Regions from separate parts of the Homo sapiens genome. Here all the other regions are linked to region 1. The links are contacts of gene promoters, found by promoter capture Hi-C in blood cells and fetal thymus (Javierre and others, 2016). All regions are on one chromosome and are shown on one strand. Each heading gives the region's core, a stretch centred on a gene start or on the middle of the fragment in contact. The rest is flanking DNA. Distances are from core to core; before and after follow the strand shown. Region 1 holds the start of CYP2R1 (cytochrome P450 family 2 subfamily R member 1). Region 2 has its middle 44 kb from the start of COPB1. Region 3 overlaps COPB1 (coat protein complex I subunit beta 1). Region 4 has its middle 42 kb from the start of PDE3B.

Region 1 (3,114 bases), core at 208-2,707:
TCCTGATTTCGTGATCCGCCCGCCTCGGCCTCCTAAAGTGCTGGGATTATAGGCGTGAGCCACCGCGCCCGGGCACCTAGACCAATCCTTGTAAAAATTGGTTTAAGTAAGGATTTAAGGTCAAACCTGAAATACCACAGTTGCCAAACATCCCTGTACTTTTCCTTCAAAACACTGACCACAGCCTGTGGCCGATAATGAGATTAGTTTTCTCTCTCCCACTCATCTGCCAACTCCTTAAAAGGCTGTATCTGCCTTCTTCACCGCTAGCGTCAGGCCTGTAGTTGCATATAAATAAGTGTAATTCAAAACAAAACAGGTGAGCTCTGTCCCAGGACCCGTGGAAACTCCTGCCCCCTCCGGACGTCGGGACACCCACACACAAGCGGTGGTCGCCTTTTCCGCTGCCAGTCACAGGGCATTTCCGTGCTGCTTTCCCCTCCGCAGAATGAGGAGGAGCGAAGTACCGACCTCACCGGCTGGTTATGAGTTTTAAATGAGTCACCAAGTTGGCAGTGACAGTGGCACACAGAAGGCGCCTTTTAAGTATCTGCTAAGGTGCCGTTCCCAGCCAGTCAGAACGGCATTACCATCTGCGCTGTAGGACCCCCGCAGCGGATTTTAGTCATCAATTCATTCACGCGTTCACAATCGTTTCCCAGGGCCCGCTTCTCAGTCAGGGGCGTTCCCCTGCATTCTCCATTCTCACAGCAAACGCCTACACCAGTCGTTCGTCGACTGCAGACACCGAAGAACCTGCTATTAACCATCTAGAACTCAGAACGCCTTGATTTTCCGACAAGCCGCGTGCAGCTTCCACAGAGCTGCGAGGCCGACTCGCAAGACGCCCGCACCTGAGGGCATGCGTCCACCCTGGACCTGAAGTGGCGGCGCGGCTGGCGAGCCAAACGGCGCAGGCGCAGGAGCAAGAGCTCGAGCGGTAGCGGGAAAATCAGGACTGGATCGCCTCGGAGCCTCGGCCCGGAGTGGGTCACCGGCAGGGGCGGGGCTCCCCCTGCAAGGGGGCACGGCGTCGAGGACTTCTCCCTTCCAGACCCGGGAAGCGGGTGTCCCTCAAAGGGCAGCCGGCACACGGAGAGGTCCCGACTAGTCGGCCCAGGGGCGGCCATAAGTCCAACCAGGAAGGCCCTGGCCAGCCCGGGCCAGCCTGGCGGCCCTCCCTGCCCGGGGCCCGTCGGGGCTGTACCTCTCCGTACACCTGGCTCTGCTTTCTCATGTAGACATGGGGAAGCTCGGATGAGGCTGCCAGGGAATAGATGTTGCCGATAAATGGCAGCCCCGGCGGCCCCGGGGGGAAGCCCATCGGCCGCCTCTGCTTCAGCAGCTGGCGGACCCCTAGCGCGAAGAGCAGCAGGAAGAGCGCGCCGCCGAGCGCCGCCGCGCCCTCTTCAGCTCTCCAAAGCTTCCACATCGGCCCGAGCTGGAGGTGCGAACTCCACAGCAGCCCTGAGACCCAGGCACTCCCTCCAGCCCTGCCATACTCCCATTGGCAGGATACCCTCAGGTCCCGCCCTAGCTCCGTGGCCATTGGCTGACTGAGTGAGCGCTCAGGCCCCTTCGGGACAACTACCTTCTAGTTTTGCGCGGCTGAGAGTGGACTTTGCGGAGCGGGTGGCCGGTGCTACCCTTTGGAGGTGGCGCGGCTCTAGGCGGAGCAATGAGCCAGGAGTCCGTTTTCTAGAATGTTGACACAAGGGCATTGACGAGGTGTCAGGACGGCCTCACTCACTGGGCTAGGCGGATCCTGCCTCTCTGGGGCCAGACCTTTCTTAAAGTGTCTTTTTAAGTACCAGGTCTGCTTATTTCATTTCACACTAGGAAAACTGGAGAGATGATCAACACTGCAGTCTTTAGCTGAACCTGATACTTTTCAGAATTTCCAGTAGAAAATTGACCCATCAGTAGTAAAAGAAAGTAATTTTACTGTTTTGTCCTGTTTTACTATTTTTCTCCTGTTAATGTATTTTTGTGTGTGATCTTTTAATAATTGTGATGATTGAGCAGTTTATGTGATTAACTCAGTTTACCTATATTTGACCCCTCTCTGGTCTTTCCAAACTGATTACTTATTGGCAATCACGGGACTCTTGTCTGCACTTGTTCACGGAGAGTATTTACTATTCAAGATTTCTGCCTCCACTGCCTGGAATTAAGCAACTGATTTCATATTATTCTTGCTAATTGTTTTTATTCCTGTTTTCTATTGGGCAGTTCCTTGCAATACAGGACTTACTGGGTTTGGGACTCTTCTAACAGCTGCCCTCTAATTGTGATTTAGCAGTGGCATGAGTTTTATGGTCCTCATTAGCTTACGACTCATTCACACAACAAATATTTATTGAATGTCTACTATGTTCCCATGTCCTAAGCAATGGAGATACATAGGTGAATAAGAGCAACAAAGTCCTTTCTATAACTTACATTCTTATGAGAGGGAAGAGCAATGACATGGAAATACAATAATTTTCAATAATCAGAAGCAAACAAAAAGTGCGTTATAGAAAACGCCTGGTGGTTGGGGAGATACTTTAGCAGGCAAGGGCTGTCAAGGAAAGTCTTATTAGGAAGATGACATTGGAGCTGAGATCAACTGCTAAAGAAGTGTATTTGTTTCCTACTACTGTTGTAATAAATTACCACCAATCTGATGGCTTAAAACCACACAAATTTATTTTCTTACAATTCTTGAGGTGAGAAGTCCAAAATGAGTCTTCCAGGGCTGACAGAGAGGTGTTAGTGGGGCTTCATTCTTTCTAGAGACTGTAGGAGAGATTCTATTTCCTTGTCTTTTTCAGCTTCTAGAGGCTGCCCACATTCCTTGGCTTTCGTCCCCATTCCTTCCTCTTCAAGGCCATTAATGTCAGTTTGAATCCTTCCAACATCGCTGTCTCTCTGATTATCTCTCTTCTACTTCCTTCTTCCACTTATAAGGATCGTTGTGATTATATTGGGCCCACCTGGATAATCCCAACTCAAAGATCAGCTGATTAGCCCTTTAATTCCATCTGCAACCTTAATTCTTCTTGCCATGAAACCTAACATATTCACAGTTCTAGGGATTAGTATGTGGACCTATTGGGGGAGGGGAGCATT
Region 2 (3,114 bases), core at 186-2,685, 440 kb before region 1:
CTCAGGAGTTTGAGACCAGCCTGGGCAACATGGCAAAACTGTCTCTACAAAAAATACAAAAATTAAATTAGCTGGGCATGGTGGCATGTGCCTGTGGTCCCAGCTACTCGGGTGATGAGGTGAGAGAGGTGGAGGTTGCAGTGAGCCAAGATCGCACCACTGCCAGACCCCGTCCCAAAAAAAAAAAAAAAGGCCGGGCACCGTGGCTCACGCCTGTAATCCCAGCACTTTGGGAGGCTGAGGTAGGCAGATCACGAGGTTGAGATTGAGACCATCCTGGCCAATATGGTGAAAACCCATCTCTACTAAAAATAGATAAAAATTAGCTGGGCATGGTGGCCCACGCCTGTAGTCCCAGCTACTCAGGAGGCTGAGGCAGGAGAATTGCTTGAACCAGGGAGGTGGAGGTTGCAGTGAGCCAATTGTGCCACTGCACTCCAGCCTGGTGACAGAGCCAGAGTCCGTCTCAAAAAAAAAAAAAAAAGTTTTTTAAAAAAGGAAAAATAATCTTGCTTTTTCTTAAATTTTTTTTTTTTTGATGGGGGATCTCTTTGTTGCTCAGGCTGGTCTTGAACTTCTGGGCTCAAGTGATACTCCCACCTTGGCCTCCGAAAGTGTTGGGATTACAGGCATAAACCACCATGCCCAGGCTCCTTTAAAAAAAAATTTTTTTTTAAAAGAGAGGGAGTCTCACCCTGTCACCCAGGATGGACTGCAGCGGCACAATCATAGCTCGCTGCAGCCTTGAACTCCTGGTCCCGAGAATTTCTCCCGATTCAGCTTCCCGGGCACATGCCACCATACCAGGCTAATTTGTAAAATTTTTTTGTAGAGACAGGGTCTATGTTGCCCAGGTTGGTTTTGAATTCCTGGCCTCAATCCACCCTCCAGCCTTGGCCTCCCAAAGTGTTGGGATTATAGGTGCGAGCCACCACACTTGACCCTTTTTCTTCTTATAAAACAACTGAGTGCCAATCTCTTCTAATTGCAAAATGAAAAAAAAAAAAAAAAAAAAAAAAAATCACTGCACAGAGCTCCCTCTAGTGTTGTGACATTACTGCAATGTAAGCCATTTAATGCTCCTGTAAGCTTTACAGGTTTATCCACATTCAATACATTAATATATTAAGCTTTCATTTGGTATTTAATGTTTATTCTCTACCGGACATCATGGTCCTAATTATATGGTATCTTATAATGTGAACAGCTACTATCTTTGAATGTATATTATATCCCAAATAACAGGGCATAGTGTAAACAGCTTCTTTCAACAATGTGCTGCTATCCAATTCAGTTCACATTTATTACATGCACAAAGCTAATGAAATGCTAATGAAGTAAACAGTTTAATGTATCTGACAATTGTGTTAACTTCTTTGTTCTCCTTATTTATGAATTTAAGAAAATGGCAATGTGAGGCAATCTGATTCCAACAAAAATGGCCTGAATATGTCAGGCAGGCAACTTTCTAAGAGTATCAACCGAGATATATTCTAGGATGTACACAGGCATAATTCCTTCAGATATGAAATGTGATACTGGTTAACTGTGATTACAACACTAATATCATTAACAGGCTAAGTCACTTTTCCTGTCCCATATATTGTCAATAGGTCATGGAAAAAGGATTCCCTGGTAAAGTAAGGTTAGGATATACTGGGTTAAACCAAACTAATCTGCTTTCCTCTCAGAATCTCTGGTATGCTAATGTACATTGTGAATCTCCAGTGCAGGACAGTTTGAAGCTTTTCCCCAACTTACTTGACTATGGAATTACTTTTTCACTCAGAATATCTAATGACATCTAAGGAAGCTAATGTTCAGTAGAACAGAGTTTGGGAAATGATGATCTAATCCAAAGTTGCACCAGCTCCTTCGCTCTCATTGCAAATCTCTACCCTTGAATCGACATCCCTTCTCTGCACTTCCAGTATATCTTTCCCATTTGATAAGCCCTGGCTTTGTTCTAAGATCTCAGTGTTCTGGAATCTCAAATGCCCTGTAATCTAGGCTTTTTTTTTCTTTTTTTTTTTTTAAAAGCAAGTGGCTTCACAGTTTATGACATCATACAAGGTATCAATCTCCTTATACTCCAAACAAATCATTTCATTCTTAATGAAATAGGAGATGCTTTCAGTCTTTCACAGACCTTATCTAAGGACTCACAGGGAATGCAGCCTGAACCCTAGCTGGTAGACAAATAATAGCCTTAAGTTTAGACTTAGCTAAAAAATCAGACTACCTCAATCACCCCCAATGAAAGTAAAGGCCAAAAGGAAAGCACAATCAGACGCTGGGAAACTTAGCTTGGAAATGCATTTGGAATTATACTGCAGTGTGATGGTACCCAGTCCTAGTGTGAAGTGAGGAAAAGGAGACGAGTGAGTAAGGCACAGAGGCAACAGAGAAAAAGGCAGCTTTTTGAATCCTCTCTAGTTGAATCCTCCCAGTACCAGCTTCAGTAATTGGTTAGAACCAGTTTTATTCCTAACAAACATAGAACACCCTAAACTAAATGTGAGTAAGGCACGGAGGCAACAGAGAAAAAGGCAGCTTTTTGAATCCTCTCTAGTTGAATCCTCCCAGTACCAGCTTCAGTAATTGGTTAGAACCAGTTTTATTCCTAACAAACATAGAACACCCCAAACTAAATGTGAATGATTAAAAAATCTATTTTGGATTATCTACTCTTCATTATGATTCAGGATAATTAAGAACAGTATATCTATTTCAGTTCGGGTACATAATACTTCTTTAAACTGCAGAGCGATCTGTTTTCTCAAGTTATTTTGGGCCGGGTGCGGTGGCTCACGCCTGTAATCCCAACACTCCGGGAGGCTGAGGCGGGCGGATCACGAGGTCAGGAGATCGAGACCATCCTGGCCAACATGGTGAAAGCCCGTCTCTACTAAAAATACAAAAAATTAGCCAGGCGTGGTGGCGGGCACCTGTAGTCCCAGCTACTTGGGAGGCTGAGGCAGGAGAATGGTGTAAACCCGGGAGGTGGAGCTTGCAGTGAGCCAAGATCACGCCACTGCACTCCAGCCTGGGTGACAGAGCCAGACTCCATCTCAAAAAAAAAAAAAAAAGTTATTTTGATACTTTCTCCCTGGA
Region 3 (3,114 bases), core at 272-2,771, 420 kb before region 1:
AAAGTTAAAGCAAATTCTTTAGGCAAAAGATGTATGATACCAGAAACTTAGTCCTACACAAAGAAATGAAGAGTGTTGGAAATGGCATAAATGAAGGAGTGCCAGTGAGATTATAAGCAACCAAACTTCCTTCTTGTACCAAACAGTGCAAACATTATTAACTCGGTATGTTACAAGAAACTGGCTCTTTTAAGCAGGTATCAGTAAACACTCCCAACTTCCAGAAGTGATGCAACCAGGAGAGGAAAGCAAATTCAACTCTGAGATAAAAAAATGTTGGAGACTTTTAAAAAACATACTTTAAAGATTATACTGTGACCAGACCTGAATAAATAAATGCCCACAAAAGAGTTACAAAATAAATTATTGCTCAAAAATCAAATCAATTAAGGGATAATATACCTTGTAAATTATCTGGCTCTCATTTATGGCTTTTCTTATAATGGAATTAAAACAAAAACAAAAAGAACCTGGCCAGGCACGGTGGCTCATGCCTGTAATCCCAGCACTTTGGGAGGCCGAGGTGGGCGGATCACCTGAGGTCAGCAGTTCGAGACCAGCCTGGTCAACATGGTGAAACCCCAGTCTCTACTAAAAATACAAAAAAAATTAGACAGGCGTGGTGGCAGGCGCCTGTAGCCCCAGCTACTCGGGAGGCTGAGCCAGGAGAATTGCTTAAACCCAGGAGGCGGAGGTTGCAGTGAGCTGAGATCATGCCATGGCACTCCGGCCTGGGCAAGAAGAGTGAGACTCCGTCTAAAAAAAAATTTTTTTTTAGATCAAGCTGTTAGTCTCCAAAAACGAAGGAAATATGAGTGATGTGAGTGAAAGTGTTTCAATTTAGAAACCTGCTGTATAGATAACCAACATAATACGAAAGCTGAAGGAATCAAAAGGAGTCCCATTGCTACAGGCCCAATTTGAATGTCAGAAATTGCTGTGGTAGGACATTGTAACCAACTCTGCGCTACTACCACAAATGTTCTATGGATTCTGTTTCTTAAATAATAAGAGTTGAAACTACTTGATCAGTGGCAGCATAATGGATGTTGTCTTAGCAGGCATGAAAACATTCATTTCTTTCTACATCTCCATCAGAGCTCTTGGGTGACCAGCTAAATTGTCAATGAACAGTAATATTTTAAAAGGAGTCTTTTATTTCTGAGCAGTAGGTCTCAATGGTGAGCTTAAAATACTTAGTAAGCCATCCCGTAAAGAGGATGTGCTGACATCCAGGCTTTGTTGTTCCACTGACAGAGCACAGACAGAGTTGATTAAGCACAATTCTTAAGAGCCCTAGGATTTTCAAAATGGGAAATGAGCAATGGCTTCAACTTAAGTTACTGGTTGTATTAGCCCTTACCAAAAGAGTCAGCCTATCCTTTGAAGCTTTGAAGCCAGGCACCGACTTCTCTCTAGCTACCAAAGTCCTAGATGGCATCTTCTTCCAATATAAGGTTGTTTAGTCTACACTGAAAATCTGTTGTTTAGTGTGGTCACCTTCACCAATGATCTTGGCTAGATCTTCCAGATAACTTGCCACAGCTTCTCCATTAGGACTTGCTACTTCATGTCAAACTTTTACATTATGAAGACGGGCTTATTTCCTTAAACCTCATGAATCAACCTCTGCTAGCTTCAAACTCTTCTTCTGAAGCTTCCTAACCTCTCTCAGCCTTCATGGAATTGAAGAGAGTTAAGGTCTTAGTCTGGATTAGGCTTTTGGCTTAAGGGAATCTTGTGGCTGGTTTTATCTTCTATCCAGACCACTCAAACTTTCTATCAGCAATAAAGCTATTTCGCTTTCTTTCTTCTTCTTTTTTTTCCTCGAGACGGAGTCTTGTTCTGTCTCCCAGGCTGGAGTGCAGTGGTGTGATGTCAGCTCACTGCAACCTCTGCCTCCCATGTTCAAACAATTCTCCTGCCTCAGCCTCCCAAGTAGCTGGGAGTACAGGCGCCTGCCACCACACCTGGCTAATTTTTGTATTTTTAGTAGAGACAGGGTTTCACCATGTTGGCCAGGCTGGTCTCGAACTCCTGACCTCGTGATCCGCCTGTCTCGGGCCTCCCAAAGTGCTGGTGTGAGTCACCACGCCTGCCAAATGTTTCACTTTCTTATCATTCATGTGTTTACTGGAGTAGCACTTTTAATTTCCTTTAAGAGCATTTCCTTTGCATGCATAACTTGGCTACCTACTTGGCAAAAGCAGCCTAGCTTTTGGCTTAGCTCAGCTTTTGACATGCATTCCTTACTAAGTTTAATTATTTCTCACTTTTGATTTAAAGTGAAAGACATGTGACTCTTCCCTTCACTTAGAAGCCACTGTAGGATTATTAACCGGCCTAATTTCAATATTGTGGTATCTCAGGGAATAGAATAGGGAGGCCCAAGGAGGAAAGAGACGGGGTAACAGCCGGAACACACACAACAATTATTGATTACGTTTACTATTTTATATGGGAATGGTTCCTGGCATCCCAAAACAACTATGATAGTAACATTAAAGATCACTGATAACAGATCACCATAACAGATGTAATAATAATGAAAAAGTTTGAAATATTGTGAGAATTACCAAAATGTAACACAGAGATATGAAGTGAGCATATGCTTATTTGGAAAAATGATGCTAACAGACTTGCTCAACTCAGGGTTCCCACAAACCTTCATTTGTTTAAAAAAAAAAAAAAAAGCAATATGTGCAAAGTACAATAAAATGAAGTATGCCTGTAAATGCTATGTAAATAATTGTTACACTGCATTGTTTTCAACTTTCTATTATTTTTTACTGTTTATCATTTTTTAAAAAAGATATTTTCAATCCATAGTTGGTTGAATCTGCAGGTGCAGAAGCTGTGAATATGGAGGACCAACTGCATACCATTGTAAATGGGTGTTTGGTTAGAACGGTCAGAAGCTACAAAGCAGGCATGAACTACAGATGAGAATAACTTAAGAGACATTCTGGGATAAAACAGACAATGACCGAATGGATGCAGATGCTGGAGAGAAGGACATTTCCTTCACTGGTCCTGAACTAATCCCAGCAAACTGAGGTGACTTCATAAATCCTTTCTCTTCCACTGGAATAATCACATGACATTGTTATTGTA
Region 4 (3,114 bases), core at 178-2,677, 290 kb before region 1:
CGTTGCTGGCTAGGAGCTGTGTTCCTTTGGAGGAGAAAAGGCACTGTGAGTTTTAGAATTTTCAGCTTTTCTGCTCTGGTTTCTCCCCATCTTTGTGGTTTTATCTACCTTTGGTCTTTGATGTTGGTGACCTACAGATGGGGTTTTGGTGTAGATGACCTTTTTGTTGATGTTGATACTATTCCTTTCTGTTTGTTAGTTTTCCTCCTAACAGTCAAGTCCCTCAGCTGCAGGTCTGTTGGAGTTTGCTGGAGTTCCACTCCAGACCCTATTTGCCTGGGTGTCACCAGCAGAGGCTGCAGAACAGCATACATTGCTGTCTGGTCCTTCCTCTGGAAGCTTCGTCCCAGAGAGGCAGCCACCTATATGAGGTGTCTGTTGGCCACTACTGGGAGGTGTCTCCCAGTTAGGTTACACGGAGGTTAGGGATCCACTTGAGGAGGCAGTCTGTCCGTTCTCAGAGCTCAAACGCTATGCTGGGAGAACCACTGCTCTCTTCAGAGCTATGAGACAGGGACGTTTAAGTCTGCAGAAGTTGTCCGTTGCCTTATGTTCAGCTATGCCCTGCCCACAGAGGTGAAGTCTAGAGGCAGTAGGCCTTGTTAAGCTGTTGTGGGCTCCGCTCAGTTCGAGTTTCCCACCGCTTTTTTACCTACTCAAGCCTCAGCAATGGTGGATGCCCCTCCCCGAGCCAGGCTGCTGTCTCGCAGATCAATCTCAGACTGCTGAGCTAGCAGTGAGCAAGGCTCTGTGGGTGTGGGAGCCGCCGAGCCAGGCACGGAAGAGAATCACCTTGTCTGCTGGTTGCTAAGACCTTGGGAACAGCACTGTATTTGAGCGGGAGTGTCCCATTTTCCCAGGTAGTCTGTCATGGCTTCCCTTGGCTAGGAAAGGGAAATCCCCTGACCCCTTGTGCTTCCCAGGTGAGGTTATGCCCCACCCTGTTTCTGCTCGCCCTCTGTGGGCTGCACCCACTGTTCAACCAGTCCCAGTGAGATGCACCAGGTACCTCAGTTGGAAATGCAGAAATCACCCATCTTCTGCGTCGATCCTGCTGGGAGCTGCAGACAGGAGCTGTTCCTATTTGGCCATCTTGGAATGCTCCAACATTTCTTTATTTCTGGCTTTCACATTGGCATTCTTTCCCACTTTTGTGTAGTTCCAATTTTTTGTTTAGTATTCTTATGTGTTTTTTTTAAAACCAAATATCTTGGAAGCACTGTTAAAGAAATTAAAGTTTAGACAGGGAAACAAATCACTCATTCCCAGTAAATAGCATTATGTCATGCATTATTCCATTTTAGAAATTCAGCTTTGACTCCCTATTTCAGGTGACTGCCAGTTGGCTATTTCAGGAGTAAGGAGCCAAACATCATTTACACAAGCAACATGCACGGGGTCTTGCAACACAAATGGGTCAGTGCTAACTCAAGGGTGCTGCCTAAACTGGGGGGAGTGGGACTTGTGTTGGAAACAAACATGAGAGGAGTAGCTGACAGATCAATGGTGTAATACTGGAGTAAAAATCCCCAAACTACTACAGACAAGGATTTTAGGGATTCTTTCCTGTTCCTAAACTAAGTTCTAGCCTCCTGGATGCCCAGCTACATAACTATCCCTGGGTCTGGGATGAAATTTGCACTTGAAACCCACCAAAGGCTGCCGTTCTTCCACCTCAAAACACAAATCTAGCTACCTGCATTATTGCCTGAAAGCCTCTAGATATGGCCTGGAGAAGATGTAAACTCTCTCCGACTCAGTCTCTTGAGCTGGTAACTCTGGGTGAATGGAGGCTTAATGTAAATAGAACAAGGGGTTCTTCGTGATCACATAATCCTGTCTACATGCTCACTTTGGGGAAAATCAGGATGTCATGGGCTTCAGAATCAGAGTTTAAAAGATTTATAGATGCCTTAAGAAGCAAAAGTGAACACCCTTACTCCCAACTCCATGAACTTGCTCAGGTAACTTGTCCGAGGCCATATATCTAGTAAGTGAAAGAATGAGATTAAAATCCAAGTTGTCTAACTCTCAATACCTATGTACATAACAATTTTGCTAAATGAGAATTCTGTCAAGGTCCATGCCAAATAACCTCATGCATGAGAAAATCTTGTGAAGGGCTTACTGTCAGAAAAAGGTAAGGATATCAATGTTTACCCGCACCCTTCACCATTCTCCACCTTTAACGTCTACCCTAAATTTAGTCAATCCTCTCATTCTTTACATAGAGCCCTCATTGGTTCCTCACTATAGATTCATGGCTTCATACTTCACACCCAGCATAGCACACATGCATAAGTGGGTCCTAGCTCCGGCTCAGTAGAACCATCTATAATGGCACATCTATTTTTTAGATCCCTCCCATTAGAGCAAGAGGATCCAGCAGGATGGAGAAACTCATGAACACTAAATTACAATTGGAGAGGGAATTTCAGTTATGTGATAGAGACCGTTTCCCAGAACTAGACACCTGGGCAAAACTGTCTTGGCCATGAAAAGGCTGAGCTATCACCAAGCTTTTTGGGAGTAGCAAGGAAAACTGTCTCATTTATCACCACCTCTTTGGGACATTTGTTTGGGAGAAAAGAGTGGACTTTGTTTTATATTATCTTCCTTGACCTGGTACATTCATTGGGTGGAGAGCTCTGGGCCAGGCTTTCCAGCTCCTTTTAGACTTCCAGAGGTATGAAAAAAAAATCATAGTAATAGAAACTGATTTCTATATATGTATATGTATATATATTATTTTTCTTGTAATTTTACAGTCTACAAAGTGTATGAAATTTGACCTTTTTTTGATGGGAGGAGTAGAAAGTCATGCTCATAATCTTGGAGTAGCCTTTTGGAAGGTACTAAAAATGGCTGTTGGCGGTGATAAAGTTTAAATAAATAAACTTGGATGTGCAAGACAAGAGGCTGCAGATACTGGTCTAAAGTGCAGGTAAATATATAGAGAAAGGCAGAACCCAGCCTGCATTGAGTACTAACTGAATTTACACTGAAAGCAGGAACAAAGATGGTGAGTGTTTCTCATGGATTAGGTGTGGGCTCAGCAGACCTGGAGCCATTTCAGATTTCACGTGAGTTCCGCTCAGAAAGATCAAGTGACCC

What was found. The method cuts DNA at HindIII sites, captures the fragments that hold promoters and counts their contacts. A CHiCAGO score of 5 or more calls a contact.
Region 2: a contact is called between a fragment that was not itself captured here and the fragment with the promoter of CYP2R1 in region 1, in 13 of 17 cell types (naive CD8 T cells, total CD4 T cells, naive CD4 T cells and 10 more). The highest score is 13.5, in naive CD8 T cells.
Region 3: a fragment that was not itself captured here is called in contact with the fragment with the promoter of CYP2R1 in region 1 in 2 of 17 cell types (naive B cells and naive CD4 T cells); the score reaches 6.7 in naive B cells.
Region 4: a fragment that was not itself captured here is called in contact with the fragment with the promoter of CYP2R1 in region 1 in 1 of 17 cell types (naive B cells); the score reaches 5.1 in naive B cells.

The regions. Positions count from the first base shown.
Region 1 is chr11:14,890,774-14,893,887 of GRCh38, forward strand. CYP2R1 (cytochrome P450 family 2 subfamily R member 1) reads right to left here and starts at 1,458. Exons shown (of 5, transcript NM_024514.5): 1 at 1,208-1,458. The coding sequence starts at 1,432. It also overlaps a transcript of PDE3B not described here. RefSeq lists a silencer at 966-1,205. The HindIII fragment of the contact is 6,013 bases long and covers 1,422-3,114 here.
Region 2 is chr11:14,454,170-14,457,283 of GRCh38, forward strand. No RefSeq gene overlaps it. Among named protein-coding and RNA genes, the nearest start is that of COPB1, 44 kb to the right of the region's middle. The HindIII fragment of the contact is 615 bases long and covers 1,129-1,743 here.
Region 3 is chr11:14,471,164-14,474,277 of GRCh38, forward strand. All of the region lies in intron 14 of COPB1 (coat protein complex I subunit beta 1), which reads right to left. Among named protein-coding and RNA genes, the nearest start is that of COPB1, 27 kb to the right of the region's middle. The HindIII fragment of the contact is 268 bases long and covers 1,388-1,655 here.
Region 4 is chr11:14,599,778-14,602,891 of GRCh38, forward strand. It overlaps a transcript of PSMA1 not described here. Among named protein-coding and RNA genes, the nearest start is that of PDE3B, 42 kb to the right of the region's middle. The HindIII fragment of the contact is 2,180 bases long and covers 338-2,517 here.